3 separate regions of the Homo sapiens genome follow, and all the other regions are linked to region 1. Evidence: promoter capture Hi-C in 16 types of primary human blood cells and fetal thymus (Javierre and others, 2016). All regions are on one chromosome and are shown on one strand. The core of a region is centred on a gene start or on the middle of the fragment in contact, and the rest is flanking DNA. Distances in the headings are between cores, read along the strand shown.

Region 1 (4,553 bases), core at 1,242-3,741:
TCTTTAGAAACACTTTATCTTCTCTATAATCTCTAATGATAGGATGCCCTTTACAGTTAATAAAAAATTAAATTGGAAATAACTGAACAAATCTTTTCAGGGTAACTAACCCAGGGTGGGGCAGAACTGACTGGAACACAGACAAGTCTCACTCAACCGTCAGGTCAGGTCGTTCTATCACCTGGCACATCCGCCAGCCCCACGGTGCTCATTGAAGTGCTCAGCAACCACATTCCTAGGAGACACTGCCTTATGTCTTTTTCAGGCTCATGCAAAACCTCATTGGGTGGGTTTTTCAGTTTTTAGAAACAGTTTTCTAGCTTCACAGTCGGAGAGAGTCCAGAAGGCAGAAATCATTTGTCTTGTCCCCTGAATAACACCATCCAATTTTCTGATAAGCCATGCGTCACCAAGGAATGGAAACTAGGCTTGGGGAAAAAAATGTCAATGTCCCAGAGGTTAGGTTTTTTTTTTTTTTTTTTTTTTTTTGAGACAGAGTTTCCCTCTTGTCGCCCAGGCTGGAGTGCAATGGCATGATTGTGATTTCGGCTCACTGCAACCTCCACCTCCCAGGTTCAAGTGATTCTCCTGCCTCAGCCTCCCATGTAGCTGGGATTACAGGCACCTGCCACCATGCCCGGCTAATTTTTGTATTTTCAGTAGAGATGGGGTTTCACCATGTTGGCCAGGGTGGTCTTGAACCCCTGACCTCAGGTGATCCGCCCGCCTCGGCTTCCCAAAGTGCTGGGATTACAGGCGTGAGCCACCGCGCCCAGCCCAGGGGTTAGCTTTTTACAGGAATGATATACCAGAAGATTCCTCCCACCCCAGTGCATCCACCTGATCCTTTGGGAGGCCCCACTCCAACACCTCAGGCTGTCCTCTGGGAAGAGTGACCCAAGGGCCGATATCCACTAGGCCCTCCATGAGATTGGCAGCTTCCAGCATCTTAGGGTAGCCCCAGAAAGTTCCATAACACAGGGCCTGGAAAAGATACAGGGTGGGCTGAGGTCACATCACCCTGTAAAGGACATACTGAGAAGGCATCTGTGCCTAGGGGAGATAAAAGAGGCACAAAGGTTTGGTTTTTTTTACAGCAGTGTCAGGTGGTTATTCTCTTCTTCCTCACATGTGAAATGTTAAGGAAAACAAAATAAATCTGTTTAAAAAGAGCCATACATTGCTATCTGAAAACAAACGACAAAATTCTGTGTCTATTTGAAATATCGTCTTGCTGACAAAGGGTTCATAACGTTACTGGGAATTGAGGAGTGAAGTTAGCATATGGAAGGCTCTGGAAACCAAAAGATTTACTGTTAGCCCCAAGAGGAGTTAGGATGAAGGGACAGGTCTCAAAGACCCTGATGCCAATATCTTTGAAAGCCTCGGAGGAGAAATGGTCGCCCTTGGAAAGAAAGGACTGAAGAGCACAGAGACCACAGCTCCTCCCACACACAAACCCCACACACGAGTCTGGTTTGTGCCTAGTGACCCTCCCACCGTCACCGTGCAGCCTCCTCACCGGGCTCACAGGAACTGCGAGCCAGGCTGGAGGCGAGATTGCAGTTAGATATTAACCAGGTGCCCTCAGCCCCGCTGCTTCACAGGAAGCCGCCTCCCTGAGAGTCAGGTCACAGCAGACGCTGACCGCCGGCTTCCCCATTGGCCTGGGGATAAGATCTCTGAGAGTTGCTCAAGAGTCGTCTAAGTTCTTTCTCAGATCTTGAATTCCAGCGGAAAGGCTGGCGCCAAGCAGGCTGAAGACCCCACAAGGAAGCCCACTCAGCAGCAGAATGCGGTTTCTTCACCTCCAGTCCCAAGATTCACCCCTCACTTCTCCACCAACCAGCGACCCCACATCCCAACCACCCCCGTCCAGACCCCTAAACACCCCATCCTCAAACCTCTCACGGAGGCGGATCTAGGGTGTCCTCTCCTATTAAACCGTTTCTGCTGCAGCCCTCGGCGTCCGGGTGCAGTGACTTGGGCTGCGAACCTGTACTGGTTCCGCCGCACAATCTGGGGAGAAGCGGGGCTGAGGGCGCGGAGCTGCCCAGAGAGGGGCGCCGGGGCCGGGGCCGCAGTCGCAGCTCAGGGACGGGACAGGACGCCCGGGGTCCCGGCTGCCGGCCCAGCCCCACCCTGCGGCCAAACGGACCGAGGACCGAGGTGCGCAGGGGGCGCTCAGGTCCCAGACCCCAAAGACGCTGCGGCGAGGCCCGGGTCCCGCCACAGCCGGTTCCGACTGGTTCCGACCAGCCCTTCGCCCTGCCTCAGGACGCCGGGCCCCGCACACTCACCATTTCCCGGCTGTGCGGTGTCCCGGGTCCTCCCAACTCCCGTAGTCAGGGTAGGTCCCAGCGCGACAAAAGCCACCACAGATGTCCCAGGGCGTCTCTCAGTGACAGAATACGGAACAGAGGTCACCAGGGTGAAGAGGCCACTAGCTCCTGGAACGTCACACCCTCCTCTCTGCCTCGCGCCTGATTGACAATTCTCAGGAACCCGCCCACGACTTTGATTGGGTAGCCCTCCAGGTCCCGCCTCCTGGGCACTGAGTGACAGAAGAAGCGATCTCACAGTGCTGAGTGCAGCCGGATGAACAGGTTCCAGACCCGGCCCCTGGCAGGGCGGGCTTCCTCCCTGCGTTGTGACCCGACCCGTCCCGGGAAACGTTTGCCTTAAAGCGGAATTTCCTACCTGTACGCAGTGGGCCCTTTTTGCTTCTTCCTCCTGAACAATTGTGTGCAAGGAATCCCAGACTCACTGTCCAGTGGAGCCATCCCTTGGCCTCAGAGCAGGAGGGCAGCCGAGGCCACACAGGCCACACTGTAGCAGCGGGGGACAGGGGGTGGGTGGGTGGGGGGGTGGTGCTGATGTCCTCCAGGGACCAGGAATTTGGGATGAGGCTGTCGCCTGCAAGGTCAAGCCTTTCTTCCACTATAAGCGCTGGATGGGTTCTTTCTGCGCGCTACGCAAATAAAGACCACGGTATTGCAGTTAAAAAAAAAGTTTAATAAACACTAGGCCAGCTACGATACGTGAGAGACGGAGTTACTACTCAAATTATTCTCATCCAAGGTCCTCTGGTAGGGGTTTTTCAAGGGCAGTTTGGGAGAAAGGGTGGAGGTAGCTAGGCTTGCTACTGACTGGTTGGGGTGGGGATGAAATCACTGGGGATGGAATCTGTCCTCTTGGCAGTGCGTGGTGGCTCACCGCTGTAATCCCAATACTTTGGGAGGCCTAGGTGGGAGGATCGCTTGAGGCCAGTAGTTCAAGACCAGCCTGGACATAGAGTGAAACTCCGTCTCTATACTATAAGGGAGGAGACCACCCCTCATATTGTCTTATGCCCAATTTCTGCCTCCAAAGAAGAAGTAAAAACTAAAAGGCAGAAATGAAATCCACAGGCAGATAACCCGGCTTGTGCCCTGGGCTGGGTAGTTAAAAATCAACCTCTGACCTAACTGTGTTATCTATGATTCCAGACATTGTATGGAAAAGCACTGTGAAAATCCCTGTCCTGTTCTGTTCAGTTCTGGTTACCGGTGCATGCAGCCCCCAGTCACGTACCCACTGTTTGCTCCATCAATCACGACCCTCTCACGCGGACTCCTAGTTGTAAGCCCTTAAAAGGGACAAGAATTGCTCACTCGGGGAGCTCGGTTTTTGGAGACGTGAGTCCGCCGATGCTCCCAGCCCAGCTGAATAAAGCCCTTTCCTTCCACAACTCGGTGTCTGAGGGGTTCTTGTCTGCGGCTTGTACTGCTACATATTTAAAAAAGAAAAAAAGAGGCCGGGCCCGGTGGCTCACACCTGTAATCCCAGAACTTTGGGAGGCCCAGGCGGGCGGATCACCTGAGGTCGGGAGTTTGAGACCAGCCTGACCAACATGGAGAAAGCTCGTCTCTACTAAAAATACAAAATTAGCTGGGCGTGGTGGCACATGTCTGTAATCCCAGCTACCTGGGAGGCTAAGGCGGGAGAATCACTTGAACCCGGGAGGTGGAGGTTGCGGTGAGCTGAGATCGCGCCAAGCCGAGATCGTGCCTTTGCACTCCAGCCTGGGCAACAAGAGCGAAACTCCGTCTCAAAAAAAAACAAAAAAAAGACAAAAAAAAAAAAAACCTATCCTGTTATGCTGAATCACTTCTGGTTGGGGCCACAGGAGCAGAGTTGGCAGGTGCAGGTGGTGTCAGACATGCAAAAAAAAAACAAACAAACAAACAAAAACTGAAAATACGTCTACAAATGCTAATCTACAATAGTGGTGTTATCTGCAGAAATAGCTGGCAATCTATGTCTACACTTTAGCAGCATTCCGATTCCTTTCATCCCTCAGCCTGATGGCCATTCATTCGTTTTACAAAGGCAGTTGAGTTTTGGGGAAGGCTTATTATCATTTAAGCTATCTTCCAAAGTTAGCTGTGCCTAAGAGCCCAGGATTAAGGGAAAGAGAAGACAGAGGGTTGGCAGGGGCGGGGGGCGGGGCGGGGCAGAACGGGTGTTGGCTCAGATCTCTTCCACTGCCATAATTTTCTCACTGATATAAT
Region 2 (4,553 bases), core at 601-3,100, 230 kb after region 1:
AGACCAGCCTGGCCAACATGGCGAAATCCCGTTTCTACTAAAAATACAAAAATTAGCTGGGTGTGGTGGTGCGCACCTGTAATCCCAGCTACTCAAGAGGCTGAAGCATGAGAAGCCTTTGAATCTGGGAGGCAGAGGGTGCAGTGAGCCAAGATCTCACCACTGCACTCCAGCTTGGGCGACAGAGCAAGACCCTATCTCAAAAAAAAAAAAGAGAGACCTAGAGTGTCTTGGTATGCTGAAGGTCCCACAAGGTCTATGCAGTACTGTGGTCTTTTCTCCCTTTTTTGTGTGTAAAACATACATAAAATTCACCATCATAATCAATTTTAAGTGTACAGTTCAGTGCCATTAAGAACATTCATACTAGTGTGCAACCATCACCACCATCCACCTCTGGAACCCTTTTTATCTTGCAAAATTGAAACTCTATGCCCATGAAATAACTATCCATTACCCAATTTCCCTAACCTTTGGCAAATGGTATTGTACTTTTTCTATCAATATGACTACTCTAGATACCTGATATAAGTAGAATCATACCGTATTGTCTTTACATGAATGGCCCATTTCACTTAGCACGTCAAGGTTCATCTTGCAGCATATTTGTAAATTTCCTTACTTTGTAAGACTCAGTAATATTCTCTTGTATGTATAAACTTCCTTTTGTTTATTCATCTGTTGATGAAAACCTGAGTAGTTTCCAGAGTTTACCTATTGTGAATGATGCTATGTACACAGGTGTACAAAACCTATTTGAGACTTTGCTTTCAATCTTTTTTGTTTTGTTTTGTTTTTTGAGACGGAGTCTTGCTCTCTCACCCAGGCTGGAGTGCAGTGGCGCGACCTCAGCTCACTGCAAGCTCTGCCTCCCGGGTTCATGCCATTCTCCTGCCTCAGCCTCCCGAGCAGTTGGGACTACAGGCGCCTGCCACCACGCCCGGCTAATTTTTTTTTAGTAGAGACGGGGTTTCATCATGTTAGCCAGGATGGTCTCAATCTCCTGACCTTGTGATCCGCCTGCTTCGGCCTCCCAAAGTGCTGGGATTACAAGCGTGATCCACCACGCCCGGCCCTGCTTTCAATCTTTTTATTTTCCCAGAAATGGAAATGCTGATCATATGTTATTTCTATATTTTAATCTGGGGATCTGCCATACTGTTTTCAGCAGGCTTATACCACTGTACATTCCCAGTGATAGTGCACAATGTTCTCCAACATTCCACATCCTTGACAGTATTTCTTGTTTTCCATCTTTGATACTACTAATCCTAATGAGATGCTATGTATGTCTTGAGTTTGATTTGTATTTCCCTAATGACTAAAGATGTCGAGCATTGTTACGTGCTTATTGGCCATCTGGGTATCTTCTTTGGAGAAATGTCTATTCAAGTCCTTTCCTCCATTTTAAAATTGGATTGTGTCTTAGCTTGGGTTGCTAAAACAAAATACCATAAATTGGAAAGCTTAATTAATCAACAAACATTTATTTCTCATGGTTTGGGAGGCTGGGAAGTCCAATATCAAGGCACTGGCATAGTCCATGTCTGGTAAGGGCCTGCTTCCCGGTTCAAAGATAGCTATCTTCTCACTGCACCCTCTCATGGTGAAGGGCAAAGCTAGCTCTCTAGGGATTCCTATCAGGAAACTAATCCCAATTACAAGGCCTCCATCTTCATGATGTCCTCCAATCCTAAAAACCACCAGAGACAGGGCCTCCAAATACCATCACATTGTGGGGGAGAGGGGGGGCACGGGGGTAAGGTTTCAACATATGAATCTGAGGTGGCATACACTCAGCCAAAACATTACACCTCTGGCCCCCAAAATCCATGTCATCACATGTAAAATATATTCATCTCATCCCAAAGGCCTCAAAAGTCTCAGTTAATTCCAGCATGAAGCCTAATGTTTAAACTCAAACTCCAAAGTGTCATCTCAATATCACATCACTCAGATATGGATGAGACTCAATTCATGCTGAGGCAAAATTCTTCTTCAGCTCCGAACCGGTGAAAACCAAACTAGTCATGTATTTCCAAAATATGAGACAGGCACAGGATAGAGATTCCTATTCCAAAAGTGAGAAACAGGAGAAAGGGGTGAGCTCCCAAACAAGTCTGAAACCCAGAAAGCAAACTGAAGACTTTCCATATTCTTTAGATATGTAGATACTTGTAGACCTGTCCTCCACTATTCATTTTCACAGGTATTCGAAGGTTGTGTGATAAATGAAAGCTTTCCCACATTCTTTACGTAAGGTTTATCTCCATTATGAGCTCTTTCATGTCTTTGAAAGGAACTGGAATAACTGAACGTTTTTCCACATTGCTTACATTCATAGGGTTTTTCTCCGGTATGAGTTCTTTCATGTATTCTAATGGAACTGGCATAATTGAATGCTTTCCCACATTCTTTACATTCATAGGGTTTTTCTCCAGTATGAGTTCTTTCATGTGTTCGGACAGAACTAGGACAGTCAAAGGCTTTACCACATACCTGACATTTATAAGGTCCATCTCCAGTGTGCAGTATCATATGTTTTCTAATCCTTTTAAGAGAAATGAAGGCTTTCCCACATACCTGACATTCATAGGGTTTCTCTCCAGTGTGAGTTCTTTCGTGTATTTGAAATGAACTGGGACAGTCAAAGGCTCTACCACATACCTGACATTTATAAGGTCCATCTCCAGTGTGCTTTATCATGTGTCTTCGGACACTTGGGAGAGAAATGAAGGCTTTCCCGCATTCCTTACATTCATAGGGCTTCTCTCCAGTGTGAGTCCTTTCATGTGTTCGAACATTACTGGAAGAACTGAAGGTTTTACCACATTTATTACATTCATAGGGTTTCTCCCCAGTATGAGTTCTTTCATGCTTTCGAACATAACTGGGAAAAATAAAGGCTCTCCCACATACTTTACATTTATAAGGTCCATCCCCAGTGTGCCTAATCATATGACTTTGAAAATTTGTGAAAGAAATGAAGGCCTTCCCACACTGTTTACATTCATGGGGTTTCTCTCCAGTATGAGTTCTTTCATGTATTCGAAATAAACTGGGGCGGTCAAAGGCTTTTCCACATTCCTGACATTTATAAGGTCCATCTCCAGTGTGCCTAATCATGTGTCTTTGAAAACTTGGAAGAGAAATGAAAGCTTTTGCACATTCCTGACATTCATAGGGTTTCTCTCCAGTGTGAGTTCTTTCATGTATCTGAAATAAACTTGGGCGATCAAAGGCTTTCCCACATTCCTGACATTTATATGGTCCATCTCCAGTGTGCTTAATCATGTGTCTTCGAACACTTGGGAGAGAAATGAAGGCTTTCCCACATTCCGGACATGCATAGGGTTTCTCACCAGTGTGAGTTCTTTCATGTCTTCGAAAGGATTGACAAGAACTGAAGGCTTTCCCACACTGCTTACATTTATATGGTTTCTCTCCATATTCCTGATAGTCATATGGTTTGTGTCCAAGGTGAGATCTGATGTGCCTACTAAGGGATGAATGATGCATGAAGACTTTCCCACACAAACTACATTCACATGGTCTTACTATAGTAGGAATTTTCTTGTTCAGATTAAGATTGAGAATCTGACTGAAGGCTTCTCCACATTGATCATATTCTTTACTTTCACTGAGTCCCTCTTCCATATGATTTCTGGAAAAAATAGAAAGCAAGATTTAGTGGTTTGTGACTTTATATTTATTAATAGGTATTCGACTTACATTTTTACCATAATCGCGGAAAGGGTAAGTTTTCAGGCCTGTATGAATTGTTTGAAAGTGAATGGATGGAATGCTCTGCAAGAGAGCTTGACAGTAGCTATCACCAAAAAAGTGATATCCATATATACAGTTTCTTAATACTATTTCCAAGTGAATGATTTTGCAACACTGAACATCTATGCCACTTTTTCTTTTTCTGGTGAAAAAGTTGTAGGAATAAATAAATCTGAAGCTGGGCTTACTGGTTTGTTTACTTATTTTTAAAATTTCATGACATACTAAGAAGGAGACATTGCTTTATCTTGTCAGTGCAAATTACCTTAAAATTCTCCCCTGATTTTTGTACCAATCTTCAATGCTCTGGTCTTCCCATTTTTTTCCTAAAATATAGTCAGAAAAAATCCTTATGAACTGATAGACATTACAGAAAAATGACTAGATTCTAAGTTCATGATAAGGTGCAAACAACCCTGATTTATTCACCCAAGTATTCCCTTTTCCACATTAGACATCATGAAAAAGCATTAAAAAGCAAGAAATACTTCTTCTCTAACTGACTAAAAGAAGGAATGATGTCATCCTTACCTACACAGGCCAGGTTTCTAAAGGTTTCCCGCATCACATCTCTGTAGAGTTTCTTCTGGGAAGGATCCAGCAAAGCCCACTCCTCAAGTGTGAAGTTCACAGCCACATCCTCAGAGGCCACTGAGTCCTAAAACATCCCAAATATGCAATGCAGGAGGAAGAATGAGATGACAGTACAGGGATGTAAACCCAATTCATAAAAGTTCACAAATGGCTAGGTGTGGTGGCTCATGCCT
Region 3 (4,553 bases), core at 674-3,173, 180 kb after region 1:
CAACAGAAGAAATAGTAAAAAGAGAAATTAAACAAAACCAAAGGTGTTTCTTTGAAAAGATCAATATATTTGATAAATGTATGGTTAAGCTAACTGAAAAACAGAGAACAGAAATTACTAATATCACAAATGTAAGTGGGAAAAATAAAAATGAAAAAGCTATGGGCAAAATCCAACATGCATTTATGATAAGAAACTGGAGATAGACTTTCCTCTTTTTGAGAAGCAGTATTTATAGGAAACCTGCAGCTAATATCATATTTAATAGTGAGAAAATAGATGCTTTCCTGGTAAGATGAGGAAATGGGCAAAGATGTCCCCTCTTACCACTCCTACTCAACAGATTGTACTCAAAGTGTAACTAATGAGAGGAGAGGGGAGGAGAGGAGAGAAGAGATATAGATTGGGAACAAAGAAATATCACTGTCTTTGTCGCATGTGACATGATTGTCTAAGTAGAAAATCTCAAAGAATCCACAACAAACTCCTCAAACTAGAGGTTGAGGATATAATCTTAATATACAAAAGTCAATTGCCTTCTTACAGACTCACATTAGTATAGTATAGACTCACTGAGTCATCTGATTTTCAACAAATGACCAACAGCAATTCAATGAAAAAAGATAGCCTTTTTCAACAAACAGTGTTGGAAAAACTGAACATCCACATGCAAAACACAATGAAAAAAACACAAATCTAGAAACAGACGTTACACCTTAAACAAAAACTGGCTCAAAATGGATCACAGAACTAAATGTAAAATCTAGGCCAGGAGCAGTGGCTCATGCCTGTAATCCCAGCACTCTGGGAGGCCATGGCAGGAGGATAGCTTGAAGTCAGGAGTTTGAGACCAGCCTGGGCAACTAAGTAGGACCCCATCTCTACAAAAAATACAAAAATTAGCCAGGTGTGGTGGTGCACGCTTGTAGTCCCACCTACTCAGGAGGCTGAAGTGGGAGGAGTGCTTGAGCCCAGGAGGTTGAGGCTGCAGTGAGCCAAGATTGCACTACTGCACTCTGGCCTGGGCAAGAGGGAGAACTTGCCTCAAAAAAAAAAAAAAAAGTAAAGTTATAGGATACTAAAAGTTAATGAAGAAAATCTAGGTGACCCTGGGTTTGGTGACAAATGTTTAGATATAAGCAAAATCCATACAAAATAAATCAGTAAGTTTGACTTCATTAAAATGCAAAAGCTCCTTCTCTATGAAAGCTCTGTGTTAAGAGAATGAAAAAGACTCTAGAGCCTTTTGCGGTAGGGGGACCCACTTAAGGTGGGCCAATTTGCAATTAACAGCATAAAGTGGTTAAGTAAAATTTATAAACAAGGAATATGTTGCCTCCAGAACATCAAAAGAACCTAGAAGATGCTGTGGGTAGTCAGAGGGACAATAGCTATTTCATAGTAGTGTCAGGGATGGAGCGGCCCTCCTTTTACCAAATGGTTTTTAGGAACTTAACCAAAACATAAAGGTCTCTTATTTTATATATGGGGCAATGGACTTTTTGTAAGCTCTATTTTTTTTTTCAGTATTTATGTGTCCTGAATGAATGCCAAAACAATGTCCTCAGACAAGGCTGTCATTAATGTAATATCATACCTGTGTTCTAGAGAAAGGTGGATGCAGTTCAGATTTTGCCTGCAAAGACTGTGCAACAGCAAGGCTGTTGAGGTTCCCTTGGGAAACTAGGTAAAGTTATATAATTAGCCTGTGAGATGGTGAAATCTGTGAGATCAGCTGGATGGTGTCAGTAATTTCCATGTTGGATATTGGTATAGGGGCTTAATGGGTGGGACCACAGCATTAAGGTTATGGTAATCCATTGTGGGTTGCCATTCATTCTCTCCAAGTTTAAGAAAGGCCAAACTGTACTTTTAAAACGAGAAGCACGGGGAATAATCACTTCCTCACTAAACAAGTTTTACATAATACTTTTCAACCCTTCAAGGCCCTGTTCAATTTATATTGAGCCATCATAACTAATTTAACTGGGGAGTAAGTTCCACAGGGTCTCATTCTGTCAAGCCAGTTTGTAAGTGCCAAAGATTTAATTTAAATTTCACTTATGACTCACTGGTTTAGAGTTTACCTGTTCATTCTGGCGTATTTTAGGACACTGGGTGCCATGAACATGGGGAATTTAGGCACAGTTATGATGGCTAAGATGAGACATACTTATTTGTCTTCTATTTTATATTCAGTAACTCCCTTAAGATTATCAGGGGATACCTTGCTTAAATTTTAGTGGGTCTCCCAGGTATAACCATAATTTGAGCCCTTGTATTGGCTAATCCTATAGTGTGTTAATTAATACATTACATAAGATGTTAAAATTAATACAGAACCTATGATATAGAGGCTCTTTTATCTTTTTTGCCGTCTAAATTCCTTTAGTCTATTTGGAATTTCCAATTGGGTCAAATTGTGGACCTCTTTTTCAGCATTTTTTTCTTTTGTTCCTTTCCTTCCTAACATGTTTGTTTTGTTTTTGTTTTTGTCCCTGGATATATTTTGACAGCAAAATCCTCTCTACAGGGGAGGGGTGTTCTTTTCCCTCCAGAGAGCCACAAATCACTATTATCAGGCTTAGGGGCCTGTCCCTCATGGTTGCTTTATAAAGTTTAAGCACCTGGGCCTTAAGCTGGCTTTGAATGAACCCTTTGCAATGCTGCAGAGGAAACATGAGTGTGCCCTATAATCCTGAGGGTCAGCATCCTTGCTGCAATAGAGCAACAGCAGCAACACTTAAGGGTCCTTGGGAGCCCTGTGCTATTAGGAGTGTGGACTCGGCCCACCATCTAACAGCTGCCTTTCCCCCTCTCTTTTGTCTCTTTTTCAAAAATGACTGCTCTGGCAGGTAGTCTTTCCCATGAGCACCTTGTATGCCAGGTCAGCAGCAGTCACAGCTTCACTCTAAAACACACAGATAAGTCCAGGCCAAGAAACACTACCCAGGACCACTTTAAGGAGTATCAAATCTCATATTCCTCTTCAAAAAAGCCAAGGAATTATCAAAACGGCCAACTCCAGTTGGCTAAACATAGAACCCAGACTTGGCAGGGCTCAACATGCAGCACAGAGTAGCACAACTCAAAGTAGTAGCTTCCCAGAAAGCAGCAGCTGAAAGTGCATGCTGGCCATCAGGCAACAGAGCAGGTAGCAATTCAGTGCAAGAGAAGACAGACCCATGGGGTGACAGTCAATGTCTGAACACCATGCTCATGGTAACAATTCCTGTGTCGTTCCAATGTTGACACTAATAACAGCGTGGAGAACAGACACCAAAGGGTATGAAAAGACTCACTACTGTGATCATTGAGGTCTTGGGGAAAGCAGGGCAGGCTGCCCAAGCAGGTGTGACATAGCTTCAGAGAGCAAAGAAAGCCTCCTGGCCTGGGTTTTTATTGTAGTTTGGGGGTGGGGCTACAAGAGAGTACCTGCTCAAGGGCAGGAGCTTCTGTGGTTTGAATTTCCTGCTCCCAGACTTTTTCAGCTTGCCCAGGTGTGCAGCACGAGGAGAAGAGAGAAGGGTGACGCTTATGATGTGCACAGCCAAAATCAAAACATGCAGAGTCCAACTACTCATTACAGAACCAACATGAGTATGAAAAACATGCATTTGCAATTGCTTATTTTTATAAAAAGAAACACTGACAGTATGCTTAAGAAATTATTAAAAGGCCAGGCACAGTGGTTTATACCTATAACACCAGTGCTTTGACAGGCTGAGGCAGGAGGATTGCCTGAGCCCAGGAGTTCAAGACTAGCCTGAGCAACATAGTAAGACTCCATCACTACAAAAAATTTAAAAATTAGCTGGGAGTGGCAGCACACACCTGTAGTCCCAGCTACTGAAGAGGCTGAGGTGGGAAGATCACTTGAGCCCAGGAGGTTGAGGCTGCAATGAGCTATCATCATGTCATTGTACTCCAGCCTGGGCAACAGAACAAGACCCCATCTCAAAAAAAATAAAAAATTATCAAAAGTGAGTATTTGGGGGGTGGCTAGAGCAAGTGCCCTGGCTGGACTGGACCAGAATATGCTGGCAGTGAGTCTTTTCAAGTTAGACTCAACTATTGTGGATTTTTTTCTAACTTCCACATGCATGATTTCTTTAAAATAAACAGCTAAATTTAAATAAGCCATATTTTACTACTTAATAATCTTCATTTTTAATCAACTTACTTTTGCTTTTTAAATTTTGATTAAAATTTTCTACGTATGAAACAATCCTAAGACTTAATCCAGGCCGGGTGCGATGGCTCACGCCTGTAATCCTAGCACTTTGGGAGACCAAGGCAGGTGGATCGCGAGATCAGGAAATCGAGACCATCCTGGCCAACATGGTGAAACCTCGTCTCTACTAAAATACAAAAAAATTAGCCGGGCGTGGTGGTGCACGCATGTAGTCCCAGCTACTCGCGAGGCTGAGGCAGGGGAATTGCTTGAACCTGGGAGTAGGAGACTGCAGTGAGCTGAGATTGTGCCACTGCACCCCAGCCTGGTGACAGAGTGAGACTCTGTCTCAAAAAAAAAGACTGAATCCAGCTGGGTG

The links. Contacts are between HindIII fragments. The CHiCAGO score rates a contact against its expected background, and 5 or more counts as called.
Region 2: a contact is called between a fragment that was not itself captured here and the fragment with the promoter of ZNF44 in region 1, in 2 of 17 cell types (erythroblasts and naive CD4 T cells). The highest score is 6.3, in erythroblasts.
Region 3: a contact is called between a fragment that was not itself captured here and the fragment with the promoter of ZNF44 in region 1, in 2 of 17 cell types (erythroblasts and M2 macrophages). The highest score is 6.6, in erythroblasts.

Annotation. Positions count from the first base shown.
Region 1 is chr19:12,292,392-12,296,944 of GRCh38, forward strand. ZNF44 (zinc finger protein 44) reads right to left here and starts at 2,492. Exons shown (of 4, transcript NM_016264.4): 1 at 2,301-2,492. The coding sequence starts at 2,303. RefSeq lists a silencer at 2,047-2,276 and an enhancer at 2,827-2,876. The HindIII fragment of the contact is 16,141 bases long and covers 1-4,553 here.
Region 2 is chr19:12,524,253-12,528,805 of GRCh38, forward strand. ZNF564 (zinc finger protein 564) reads right to left here. Exons shown (of 4, transcript NM_144976.4): 2 at 4,318-4,444; 3 at 4,052-4,112; 4 at 1,121-3,664. The coding sequence ends at 2,194. Among named protein-coding and RNA genes, the nearest start is that of ZNF564, 25 kb to the right of the region's middle. The HindIII fragment of the contact is 772 bases long and covers 1,465-2,236 here.
Region 3 is chr19:12,475,344-12,479,896 of GRCh38, forward strand. The region is part of intron 1 of ZNF709 (zinc finger protein 709); the gene reads right to left. Among named protein-coding and RNA genes, the nearest start is that of ZNF709, 7.2 kb to the right of the region's middle. The HindIII fragment of the contact is 6,195 bases long and covers 1-4,553 here.